Regions from separate parts of the Homo sapiens genome. Here region 2 is linked to region 1. Evidence: promoter capture Hi-C in 16 types of primary human blood cells and fetal thymus (Javierre and others, 2016). All regions are on one chromosome and are shown on one strand. The core of a region is centred on a gene start or on the middle of the fragment in contact, and the rest is flanking DNA. Distances in the headings are between cores, read along the strand shown. Region 1 holds the start of GIMAP7 (GTPase, IMAP family member 7). Region 2 overlaps LOC105375566 (a long non-coding RNA gene).

Region 1 (6,457 bases), core at 1,056-3,555:
AAGTGACTCATCATTCTGAACATTGACAACTAAAGGGAAAGAAGCATTTATTTTGTCTTTCATACATCTCATCTTTTAACTATATCTCACAAAAATGAAAGAATCACTGAATGAAAGTTCCTTTGTGTATGACTATTCCATCTAATAAATAAATAAAGAATGATAGAATATCATCTTTTGGTAACTTTTAATGAAACAAATTCATTCTAGACAATCATTAACATCTGCTAACATCACAAAAAGAGAGGCATTCAAACATATGTGCCTTCTAATAGAAGTTTAGGATAGCATCTATGAAGTATTCCCACTAAAAAAACAAAGTCAAACTTTAATCTGATCCAACCTCCCCATTCATATAAATTCACACAAAACACTGGAGCTAGAAGCGAATGTTAAATGACATTGTTAGGATGCAATCAGCAGTATGAATACTGCCCAGTTCTGTTGGACAAAAGACCTTCCCTTCCTTAAACAAAGAAATTTAACACAAAGAAACAAGGAAGGTGAAAACCTACACATTAAGTGAAACATAAGAGATGTCAAACAATTGTAATGTATGAATTTTACTTAGATCCTACCTCAAACAATTTTAAAAATTATGAGATCTTCAGGGAAATCTGAATACAACTGGTAGTATTAAAATTTATAGTTGCCTTTTGAAGGCTGTTTATGAAATTGTGGAAATGTTTTTAAATGGTCTTTATCTTTCAGAGACACATACTCAAATATTTACTGATAAAATGATGTAATGTCTGACATTTGCTTCAAAATAATCTGTGATAGAGTTGAGAATAGGAGCAGATATTTGAACAAGACTGGCATAAATTGATAACTGTGAGATTTTAATATAGGTACATGGAAGTTCCTTATATTGTTTTTACCTTTGAATAAGTATAAATTTTTCACAAATAAAAAAATTAACCCATGTATAGTGTAACCACTATCGAGCAGAGACTGCATATCAGAACACCCTGATAAAACATGTTTTGTATATCTCGTTTATTCTTCAAAAATACTCTACAGTGAAACTAATTTTATTATTCTAATTTTTTAAATGAGGAAGCTGGTGTGGCTCAAAAATTCTGGGAAACATGCCCCTGGTCACTGTGCTAAGAGGTATTGGGCAGAGAAGACATTCGATTCAAAGTCTGTCTGAATCTACCATGCTCACTCTTAACCGTGCACTCTACTGCCTGTTCTTGGCTACTCTCAGGCCATGATTCTAAATTTTCATTGACATGGCACAGAGATAGACCAGTGGAGGGCAAAGGAGATGATCCACGCTTTCTGCAAAAAGGTGAGCTGGGAGCCAGCCTGTTATAAGGGAACCGTGAGGAGGGCTCCGCATTTCTCGTGGACTTTTCCATCTCTCTCATATTGAGAAGCCAAACGTGAGAGAGATGGTCAGAAATATCACTTTAAAACTTTCTCAAGTTTTAAAACTTTCTCAAGTGGTTCCTGGAAGATCCAGAGGACCTCCAGCTAAGAGAAAGGCTGAGAAATGACAAAAGCATTTACAACAGAGGTGAACAGTTCTAAACTGTGGCCAGACCCACCGGTTCTAGAAAATTTCGTAGCTCCTTGAGATCCAGTTCCCTCTGCTATAAAAAAGGAAAATAAAACCAATCTTGCAGGGTTGTCCTTAGGCTTTCATAGAGTGATTTCTATAAAGGTCTTTTATGGCAACTCTTTTTGTACTGAATGGCGCAGCAGCCCCACATGTTACACTGTTAGGGACACAGCTTGTCTCTGCTTAATGCTGGAAAAAGTCAGCAGACTGAATTCTAGTGTTCCTCCGCCATGAGTGATCTGGGTACCCCTTGGAGAATCATCAAAATCTCTGGGATTGGGATTCTGATTCTTTTTCTGTAAGAAGAGGGACTTAGACAGGTGGACTCTAAATTGCCTGTCACCTTTACAAATCTGTCTTAGGAGCCCTTAATTTCTTATGAAGGTTATCAGGCAACACTCTGTGTCTATCACAACAGCCAGTGAGTGGAGGGTGCACTATGCAGCCATGTGTGTCCTGTTACATATGAGATGCATGGGCTCCATGCAAACAAATCTCCTCACTCCCCTTCTACTCACCCCTCCCACAGCACCTTCTATGCAGTGCTGCTTAGCACAGTGCCTTGTCCCTCCTAAGGGCAGAGTCCACTCCAGCCACACACCCTGTCCCCACTGCCCTTCGCAGCCCAATAGCACCAGACCCTCTTCTCAGCCAGGCTCACCTTCTCTTGAACAAGTTGAATTTTCAGGTTTTCTCCAAGGAGGCTGCTTGAGCTGTTGCTTTTGCTTTTACTGTGAGTTAAAAGTGTCTGTACCGCCACCAAAACCTCTCAGTCAGGAAGCTCAGGCTGGGTGGAGCCACACACACAAAAATGTTTGTCTTTAAAGAAACAGAAATACGGCTCCATAATCTGGTGATTGCTTCAGTTTTGCCCGGTTGAAACGTTTTGCCCATGGGCCTGCTATAAACACCATTTCCAAAGCTACATTTTTCGCTTCAGGTTATAGTGATGGATGCAAAAGAGCCTTATTAAATGACCCAAATATTGCCTAGAAAACAAGGCACAGGACCTGATTGTCTTCCCAGGGTGGAGTGGGAGGCTGAGGGGTGATTTGGGGAAGAAGAGAGACAGGCATATACCTTGCCATTTCCAAGCGTAGAGCTGGGGGTTCTTAGTGATTGTATAATATGGGTTTTTTATTATAGTCTTTCAGGAAGGCCTCAAGTTACTCATTCAAAAGTTAACAGCACTGAGGCTCAAAGGCAGAGTCTAAATCATTAGGAACCAAGGGAAAAAAAGGAAGGTGACGCCTGGAAAAATAATCTGCCCATGAACACATAGTTTCTCTAGTTGCTTTTCGTATAATTCTTCCAAGTTTGAAAATATGCATGACCTAACAAGTAAAGATGCACCCAAGGAATAGATCCTACATCCCTTCCCCACCTTCCTCTCTACCCCACATCTTCCTACCCCAGTCTCAGGCAGAGACAGATTTTCCAGAATTTACCCAGTGGATGGTTCCAATCTGCTCTGGAGGTTTCTTGAGGTGAGAGGCAGGTTCCCAAAGCTCTCACGGTTGACCAGATATTCCAGTTGGCTACGTAAGAATACTATGTTTAGAGTTCCAAGCCCACAGCCCCTGTCGCGGCCTTGCCACCCTCCAGCGCCCCACGCCAGGAGTGGGCCTAGAGCGCTCGCCTTGCCCCTCTGTGATCCGGGCTCCGGCACCCGCCCAGGTCCGCACCACTGGCAGCCTGTAGGGAGTCGCTGGCCGTCGTCGCCGCTAAGTAGGATATATCTGCATCTTCAAAGGAAGATAAAACAAAAGCCTTCTTTGGAATATTTGGATTTTTGTCACTTTCTGTGAGCTTTAGTTCAAGAACACAAGTTGAATCACTCAAACATGAAAAACAAGTCTGAAACCAGTATCCATCAATACTTGGTCGAAGAGCCAACCCTTTCCTGGTCGCCTCCATCCACTAGAGCCAGTGAAGTAGTATGTTCCGCCAACGTTTCTCACTACGAGCTCCAAGTAGAAATAGGAAGAGGATTTGACAAGTTGACTTCTGTCCATCTAGCACGGCATACTCCTACGGGAACGCTGGTAACTACAAAAATTACAAATCTGGAAAACGGCAATAAAGAACGCCTGAAAGTTTTACAGAAAGCCATGATTCTATCCCACTTTTTCCGGCATCCCAATATTACAACTTATTGGACAGTTTTCACTGTTGGCAGCTGGCTTTGGGTTATTTCTCCATTTATGGCCTATGGTTCAGCAAGACAACTCTTGAGGACCTATTTTCCTGAAGGAATGAGTAAAACTTTAATAAGAAACATTCTCTTTGGAGCAGTGAGAGGATTGAACTATCTCTACCAATATGGCTGTATTCACAGGAGAATTAAAGCCAGCCATATCCTCATTTCTGGTGATGGCCTAGTGACCCTCTCTGGCCTGTCCCATCTGCATAGTTTGGTTAAGCATGGACAGAGGCATAGGGCTGTGTATGATTTCCCACAGTTCAGCACATTAGTGCAGCCATGGCTGAGTCCAGAACTACTGAGACAGGATTTACATGGGTATAATGTGAAGTCAGATATTTACAGTGTTGGGATTACAACATGTGAATTAGCCAGTGGGCAGGTGCCTTTCCAGGACGTGCATAGAACTCAGATGCTGTTAACAGAAACTGAAAGGTCCCCCTTATAGCCCATTGGATATCAGTATTTTCCCTCAATCAGAATCCAAAATGAAAAATTCCCGGTCAGGTGTAGACTCTGGGATTGGAGCAAGTGTGCTTGTCTCCAGTGGAACTCACACAGTAAATAGTGACCGATTACACACACCATCCTCAAAAACCTTCTCTCCTGCCTTCTTTAGCTGGGTACAGCTGTGTTTGCAACAAGATCCGGAGAAAAGGCCATCAGCAAGCAGTTTATTGTCCCATGTTTTCTTCAAACAGATGAAAGAAGAAAGCCAGGATTCGGTACTTTCACTGTTGCCTCCTGCTTATAACAAGCCATCAATATCACTGCCTCCGGTGTTACCTTGGACTGAGCCAGAATGTGGTTTTCCTGATGAAAAAGATTCATATTGGGAATTCTAGCTAGGGCTGGCAAATCATCTTATGTCCTATATACTTGACACTTTCTCCTTGCTGCTTTTTCTTCTGTATTGCTAGGTACAAATACCAGAATTATACTTGAAAATACAGTTGGTGCACTGGAGAATCTATTCAAATCACTCTGTTCAAAGGGGCATCAGTTTGTAGTCCCTTTGGTTCACACAGAGTGCTATGACAACTCCAAGGAAACATCAGAACTACTAACCTAGCTAGTTAGTGTTATTTATTCAGGAAATTTTTCTAAGCTGTGGCTAACTGTCTTGATCTCTCAATATAATTTTTGAGCCAGTTAATTTTTTCAATATTTTGCTGTCCTCTTGGGAATGGTCCTTCAAAGGATAGTGCTTCTAAGTACATCTTCTTCTCCCAGATTGTCTGGCCTTTTTAATGAGCTATTGTTAAACCAACAGGCTAGTTTATCTTGCATCAGACCCTTTTATGGTAGAGGGAAAATGTCTTTACTTTCCCTTTTTCTTCTGTTAATACTTATGGTAACATCTAACTCAGCCTCACTCACATTAAGTGATTCGCTTGAAATGTATTAAAAAAGAATACTGTGTTTAAAAATAAAAATAAAAAAAGAACATTATGTTTTTGATTTTGTGTGTATGTGTATGTGTGTGTGTGCACAAAACTCGGGGCTTTTCTTCTGCCGCCATGATGCTAAATCAATGCAAAGCTTAACTTATTAAGATAGTGCACAAATAATAACAGGAGATGAAAGGTATAGTACTGTCCTAGCTCTTACACAGATTATGTAACCTTGGAGTATCAGCTTCCTATTGCTATCATGACAAATTACCAAAAATGTAGTGGCCTAAAACAACATAAAATTTTCCTCTTACAGTTCTGGAAGTCAGAAGTCCAAAATGAGTGTTATGGGGATAAAATCAGGCTAATTAGCAGGGTACCTTCTAGAGGCTCCACGAGAGAATCTGTTCCTGGCCTCTTCCAGCATCTCTATGCTACTAGTGTTCTTTGGCTTGTGGCCACGTCGCACCAATCTCTCCTGCCATCTTCACATTGTCTTCCTTCTTTGACTTTCTTGTTTCCCCCTTAGAAAGATCTTTGTGTTTACATTTAAACCCACCTAGATAATCCAGGATAATCTCCTCACTGTGAAAGCCTTAATTTAATCACATCTGCAAAGACTGCTCTGCTATATAAAGCAACAGTCACTTGTTCCTCCCAATATCAAGTCTGTATTAGTTTCCGGGGCTGCTGTAACAAATTACCACAAACTGGGTAGCTTAAAACAAGAAAAAATTATCATCTCACAGTTCTTGAGGCCACAAGGTGTCAACAGGGCCACACTCTCTCTGAAGACTCTAGGGGAGGATCCTTCCTTGCCTCTTTCTGGCTTCTAGTGGTTTCTGGCAATCCTTGCTACTCTTTGACTTGTAGATGCATCCTTCCAATCTCTGCCTCCAGAGTTACACGGTTTTCTCCCCTGTGTGCTTATTCAAATTTCACTCATTTTCTAAGGAAAAAAGTCATTGGATTAGAAGAGCTTGCCCCACAGCCTCATCTTAATTTGATTACATCACAAAGACTATTCCCAAATAAGGTCACATTCTCAAGTCCTAGGGGTTAGATCTTGAACATTTCTTTTAGTGGATACAATTCTAAATTGTGATAGAAAATTGGTGGTTAAATAAGAAAGGACAGTGTATGCATTTTGAGAGTGAAACACCCTAGATCTCTTCCTTTGCAGTCCCAGTTGCAATGAATTGGTGAAGCCCATGCGGACAGTCCATGTCATGGTAGTTGGGAAGTTCTTACTGCATAAGGTTTAGCATCCTTATTGCTTAGCCTGGAATT
Region 2 (6,457 bases), core at 1,576-4,075, 260 kb before region 1:
TAGTTTAATTAGGTCCCATTTGTCAATTTTTGTTTTTGTTGCAATTGCTTTTGTTATCTTTGTCATGAAATCTTTGGCAGGGCCTATGTCTAGAATGGTATTCCCTAGGTTTTCTTTTAGGATTTTGTAGTTTTGGTTTTACATTTAAGTCTTCAATCCACCTTGAGTTGATTTTTGTATATGGTGAAATGAAGAGGTCCGGTTTCAATCTTCTGCATATGGGTAGCCAGTTATCCCAGCACCATTTATTGACTAGGATGTCTTTTCCCCATTACTTGTTTCTGTTGACTTTGTTGAAGATCAGATGGTTGTAGGTGTGTGGCTTTATTTCTGGGCTCTCTATTCTGTTCCATTGGTCTATATGTCTGTTTCTGTACCACACCGTGCTGTTTTTTGTTACTGTAGCTCTCTAGGAAAGTTTGAAGTCAGGTAATGTAATGCCTCCAGCTTTGTTCTTTTTGCTTAGGATTGCTTTGACTATTTGGGCTCTTTCTTGGATCCATATGAATTTTAGAATTGTTTCTTCTAATTCTTTAAAAAGGTAATTTGTAGTGTGATAGGAATAGCATTGAATCTGTAAATTGATTTGGGCAGTATGGCCATTTTAACAATATTGATTCTTCCTATCTATGAGCATGAAATGTTTTTTCATCTGTTTGTGTCATCTCTAAATTCTTTGAGCATTGTTTTGTAATTCTCATTGTAGAGATCTTTCGCCTCACTGGGGTTGAGAATTACAAAACTCTCCTTGGTTAGGGAGGTGAAAGATATTTTACTGAAAGAGATTTGAAAATGCCTAGGTATTTTATTTTTTTCTGTGTGCGTGGCTATTACGAATGGGCTTGCATTCTTGATTTGACTCTCAGCTTGGACGTTGTTTGTGTATAGAAATGCTACTAATTTTTGTACATTGAGTTTTTATCCTGAAACTTTCTTAAAGTTGTTTGTCTTGAATCTGTAAGAGCTTTTGGGCAGAGACTATGAGGTTTTCTACATATAAAATCATATTGTCTGAAAACAGAGATAGTTTGACTTCCTCTCTTCCTATTTGAATGCTTTTTATTTCTTTCTCTTGCCTGATTGCTCTGGCTAGTACTTCCAGTACCATATTGAATAGGAGTGGTGAGAGTGGTCATCCTTGTCTTATTCCAGTTTTCAGTGGGAGAGAGAGGGAGAATTCAGAGGGAGAGAGAGACAGAGTGGGAGAGAGAGAATCATATTTAAAGTGTACGATTTAATAAGTTTTGACACATATCCATTGGCCCCCCCCAAAATATCCTCATGACCCTTGTCAGTCCTTCCTCCTGACACTTCTCACCCCCATCCCCGGGCAGCCACTGACTTGCTTTTTGTCACTATAGAATAGTGAGCATTTTCTAGAGTAAGTGGAATCACACCATATATACTATATGTACTCCTTTTGTTTGACTTTTTCCACTGAGCATAATAATTTTGAGGTTCACCCATGTTGTGTGAATCAGTAGCTCATATCTTTTTATTGAGAAGTCATATTCCATTGTATAGATATGCTACAGTTAGTTTATCCATTCACCTGTTGATAGATATTTTGTTTATTCCCAACTTTTGCCTATTGCAGATAAAGCTTTATGAATGATCAGGTATAAGACATTTATGAACACATGATTTCTTTTCTCTTAGGAATATACCTAGGAGTGGAATGCCTGAGTCATATTATGGGTGTGTAAGATTACTTTTTAAGAAACTGGCCAATTGTTTTCTAAAGTCATTGCACCACTTTTTTTTTTTTTTTGAGATGCAGTTTTGCTCTTGTTGCCCAGGCTGGAGTGTACTGGTGTGATCTCAGCTCACTGCAACCTCCGCCTCCTGGGTTCAAGCAATTCTCCTGCCTCAGTCTCCTGAGAAACTGGGATTATAGGCGCCTGCCACCACACCTGGCTAATTTTTTTTTTTTGTATTTTTAGTGGAGACAGCATTTCGCCATGTTGGCCAGGCTGGTCTTGAACTCCTGGCCTCAGGTGATCTGCCTGTCTTGGCCTCCCAAAGTGCTGGGATTACAGGCGTGAGCCACTGAGCCCGGCCAATTGCACCATTTTATATACCACCAGTCCCTCCACATCTTCACCAACACTCAGTGTGTTCAGTGTATTTAATTTTAGCCATTCTAATAATCCTTTTTAGTGCTGCATAATATTTCCATGATATGAGTATACCAATATGAGTATCCCTACTGATGCACTTTTACCTCTCTTCCTATGTTTTTGCCTCTAGAAACAATTCTGCAAAACCAGACTATACTAACTGGAGCTTTTATTGCCATGAGACGGAGTCTTTGGAATAGGGTTGATGCATTAAAGTGTATAAATATTTTAAAATAAAATAAATCCTATTGAGAGCTTTCTTAAAAGGCTGTAATAATTTACATTTACCAGCAATGCATTAAAGCATCTTTTGCGTTTCTTCCCAACCTCACCACTATTTTTTTTTTTTTTTTTTTTTTTGAGATGGAGTTTTGCTCTTGTTGCCCAGGCTGGAGTGCAATGGCGCGATCTTGGCTCACTGCAACCTCCGCCTCCCGGATTCAAGCGATTCTCCTGCCTCAGCCTCCGGAGTAGCTGGGATTACAGGCATGTGCCACCACACCCGGCCTTTTGTATTTTTAGTCGAGATGGGGTTTCTCCATGTTGGTCAGGCTGATCTCGACCTCCAGACCTCAGCTCACCCCTAATTTTTGTCAATAGTATATAACTTTTTACAATGCTTTCAAGTTGTTTTGATTTTCATTTCCTTCATTATGAAGTGAATTTTTTTCACATGTGTATTGGCCATTGATTGTTCATCTGTGAACAGTCTAAGGATGTTGCACATTTTTATTTTTGTGAGTTTTTTTGGTAACATAGATTTTAAAATTTCATCTTAATTTTTTTTTTTTTCATTAGAGATGAGGTCTCACTCTGTTACCCAAGCTGGATTTCAGTGGTGCAATCAGATCTCACTGCAGCCTACAACTCCTGGGCTCAAGAGAAAAATTTATTTTTTTATCTTTAAATTTGTTTATGGCATCTTTGCCATATTAAACACTTTAAAGCCATCTTTTCTTTTATAACTTCTGGCTTCATGTCTTGGTTAAGAAAGTACATTCAACTCTTGGCTTGTACATATAATCTCCTGTATTTTGTCTTAAGATTTTCATGTTATTTTTTTACAGACACAAATTCAATCCTTCTTGGATTTTATTTTATTTTTTATTTTTTTAGATGGAGTCTTGCTCTGTTGCCAGGCTGGAGTGCAGTGGTGCGATCTCGGCTCACTACAACCTCCGTCTCCCGGGATAAAGCGATTCTCCTGTCTCAGCCTCCCAAGTAGCTGGGACTACAGGCGGGCACCACCACGGTCAGCTAATTTTTGTGTTTTTAGTATAGATGGGGTTTCACCATGTTGGTCAGGATGGTCTCGATCTCTTGACTTCGTGATCCACCTGTCTCAGCCTCCCAAAGTGTTGGGATTACAGTGTGAGTCACTGTGCCCGGCCTCTTGGATTTTTATGTAGTGTGAGGTAGCAGCCCAGCTTTACTTTCTTCTAATTGGAAAGCTGTTTTTTCCTCACCACTTAACTAAATAACCAATTTTCCTCTGCTTTTTCATACATTTATTCCCATTATTAACTAGGATTCATTATGTACTATGTATATTGTCCTACTGATTTATTTGTGTGTTTTATGCCGATGCCAGACTAACTTATGTTCAGGCATTTTTTTTCCGCACAAGGGAGCCTGAAGAAAGCATATCTAATTCCACACACAAAAACAACAGATTTCAATTGGAATTTAATTATGTATATATCCATTTTGGAAGAATGTATATCTTCATAGTGGTAAGTATTTTCATACCAGAACATGGTCTGTTTTTCTGTTTGTTCAGGTCTTGTTTCATGTTTTTCAATATGGTTGAGCTATATTTATAGTTAAGTATATCATGAATATATATATATAAGAGTATATGTACAGCATAAAGCTCAATAAAGCCATACCCAGTTTAAGGAGTAGAGCATTGCCCTTCGAAGCTTCCCATCCCACCTCCATGAGTTCCTCTCCCTGTCGCTAGGGTATTATTACTATCCTCTCTTTTGTGTTAATCATTCACTTTCTTTCTTTTTCTTTTTTTTGAGATAGGGTGTTGCTCCATTGCCTAGGCTGGAGTGCAGTGGTGCAATCATAGCTCACTGCAGCCTTGACCTCCTGGGCTCAAACGATCCTCCCACTTTGGACTTTTGTGTAGCAAGATCACCTTGTGCACCACCTCACCTGGCCAATTTTTTTTTTTTTTTTGTAGAGATAGGGCCTCACTGTTTTGCCCAGGCTGGTCTCGAACTCCTGTCCTCAGGAATCCTTCTGCTCTGGCCTCCCAAAGAGTTTGGATTACAGGCGTGAGTCACCGCGCCCAGCCTTTCCTTGCTTTTCTTTATAGTTTTGTATCACCTATGTCTGTTGCTCTAAACAATATATATTTTTAGTTTTTTTCCACGACTAACCTTGTCAAAAATGGAATCAGATTCTGTATTCTTCTGGGAAAAGAACGGTTCTTCTTTGATTAAACATTATGTATATGATATTTATTCATGTTGATGTAGGTAATTGTGTTTTGTTCATTTTTCCTGCTGAATATCATTCCACTGTGTGGATATTCTATAATTTGCTTATCCAATGCAGTATTGATGAATATTTGGGTTGTTTGTAGCTTTTTACTATCATGAGTCTTCTTACAAAATATCCTTATGCATTCATGTAAGTTTTTCTTTAAGGCAATGGTCTTCAAACTTTTTTACTTCTGTATTCACTAAAGGGATTTTTAAAAATTTAGGTCTTCTCTTGATTTTAAGCTGAACTTCTAAAATTTTTTCATCATGAATATTTGCAAAGGATGTAATTTCTAGCACATTGTAGATATTAACATTTTTAAATGAAATTACTTCAGTGCAAAAATTGAGAAGCCTTGTTCATATAAACGAATCAATAGAAATATAATCAATTCTGTTATGCTAATGCCACTCAATTCTTTGTACTCCTTCCAAAATAAATGCCAAAACCGCATAGTGGTTTCTCATTAATTTTTAATTTCTATTGATGGATATATCTGTCTTCCTTTTTGTTGAAAACAAAATAGTGGAGACTGCTTGACTTGCAGAAGGATTTAATGGCCAGTCATTAGAATCACTTGATTTCTCAATGTCTGGGAAGTATACCAAAAAAGCTTTATCAAGACATACCAAATGACTATAAATTGTATGTCTTACTCTTTCACTGAAAGGTTGAAAAGTATCCCATTTAACCCATTATATCTAAAATATTTGGAAAAATTGAAATATTATGAACTTTGATAAACCTCTGTCAATCTATTTAAAAAAACTTTTTAAGTGGAAAATTCTAAATACATAGAAGTAGAAAAAATAGCGTACTGAACTCAACGTATCTATCATTAGGCATCAACAGTTATACATGGGCAATCTTGTTTCATCTAAACCCCTATCCTTTCCACTCCTAGTTTTTATTATTGTTTTTATTTTTTGAAATAGGGTCTCACTCTGTTACCCAGGTTACGATGCAGTGGCATGATCACAGCTCACTGCGGCCTTGACCCCCGGGCTCAATGGATCCTCCTACTTCAGCCTCCTGAGTAGCTGGGACTACTGGTGCATGCTACTATCTTCCGCTAATGTTTTAAAAAATATTTTGTAGAGATAGGTCTGTGTTGCCCAGGCTGGTATTAACTCCCAGGCTCAAGCCATCCTCCTGCCTTGGCCTCCCAAAATGTGGAGATTAAAGGTGTGAGCCACCATACTCGGCCCCTTTTGACGTTTCTGACAAACTTCCCAAGATTAATTTCTAAATTAAGCCTTTTTTATTGATCTTGAACTAACTTTGGGACTTTTGAGATGGGCTCCTGGAAAATGTGAAAGAATTTCTCTCTCACCTTGTAAAAGAGGGACATTAAACTAATTGGCTTATTTGATATGTTAAATTATGTGGGAAGCACTGTCAAGTAAAAGTGACGTTTAGCTTTCTTTATATTTATATGGGCACATGTTACTAATAAGAGTGTTTCAGAAATAAAATTCTTTAAAATTTGTCAATACCCTTAGCTATTCATCATATGTCTGATATAATGTTATCAATCAGAATTCTACATCTTATTTTACAATGTTGTATGTCACAGAAATAACCAAATTTCCTCATCAATTAGATTGTAAGAAACTCTCATTAGATATTTAAATGTGACTACTTAAAAATCTTTTATAATTTACATGTTATTTTACTGTGATATTTTCCTAAAAGCTTTTGCAAGCCACTATGGTCAAAATTTGTCTTCAAAGAGATCATGGAAAAGACTCCAACAAGTACAGGTTTTTGATAACTTTAAGATCCCACCATTGGCCTGGGTAAGAATTTCCAGAACTCTAATGAAGAAACTGACTGGTTTG

What was found. The method cuts DNA at HindIII sites, captures the fragments that hold promoters and counts their contacts. A CHiCAGO score of 5 or more calls a contact.
Region 2: a fragment that was not itself captured here is called in contact with the fragment with the promoter of GIMAP7 in region 1 in 5 of 17 cell types (total CD4 T cells, naive CD4 T cells, naive CD8 T cells and 2 more); the score reaches 10.4 in total CD4 T cells.

What each region holds. Positions count from the first base shown.
Region 1 is chr7:150,510,720-150,517,176 of GRCh38, reverse strand. GIMAP7 (GTPase, IMAP family member 7) reads right to left here and starts at 2,305. Exons shown (of 2, transcript NM_153236.4): 1 at 2,232-2,305. It also overlaps the pseudogene STRADBP1. RefSeq lists enhancers at 2,154-2,413, 2,424-2,583. The HindIII fragment of the contact is 12,674 bases long and covers 1-5,317 here.
Region 2 is chr7:150,767,703-150,774,159 of GRCh38, reverse strand. All of the region lies in intron 2 of LOC105375566 (a long non-coding RNA gene), which reads left to right. Among named protein-coding and RNA genes, the nearest start is that of TMEM176B, 29 kb to the left of the region's middle. The HindIII fragment of the contact is 2,439 bases long and covers 1,606-4,044 here.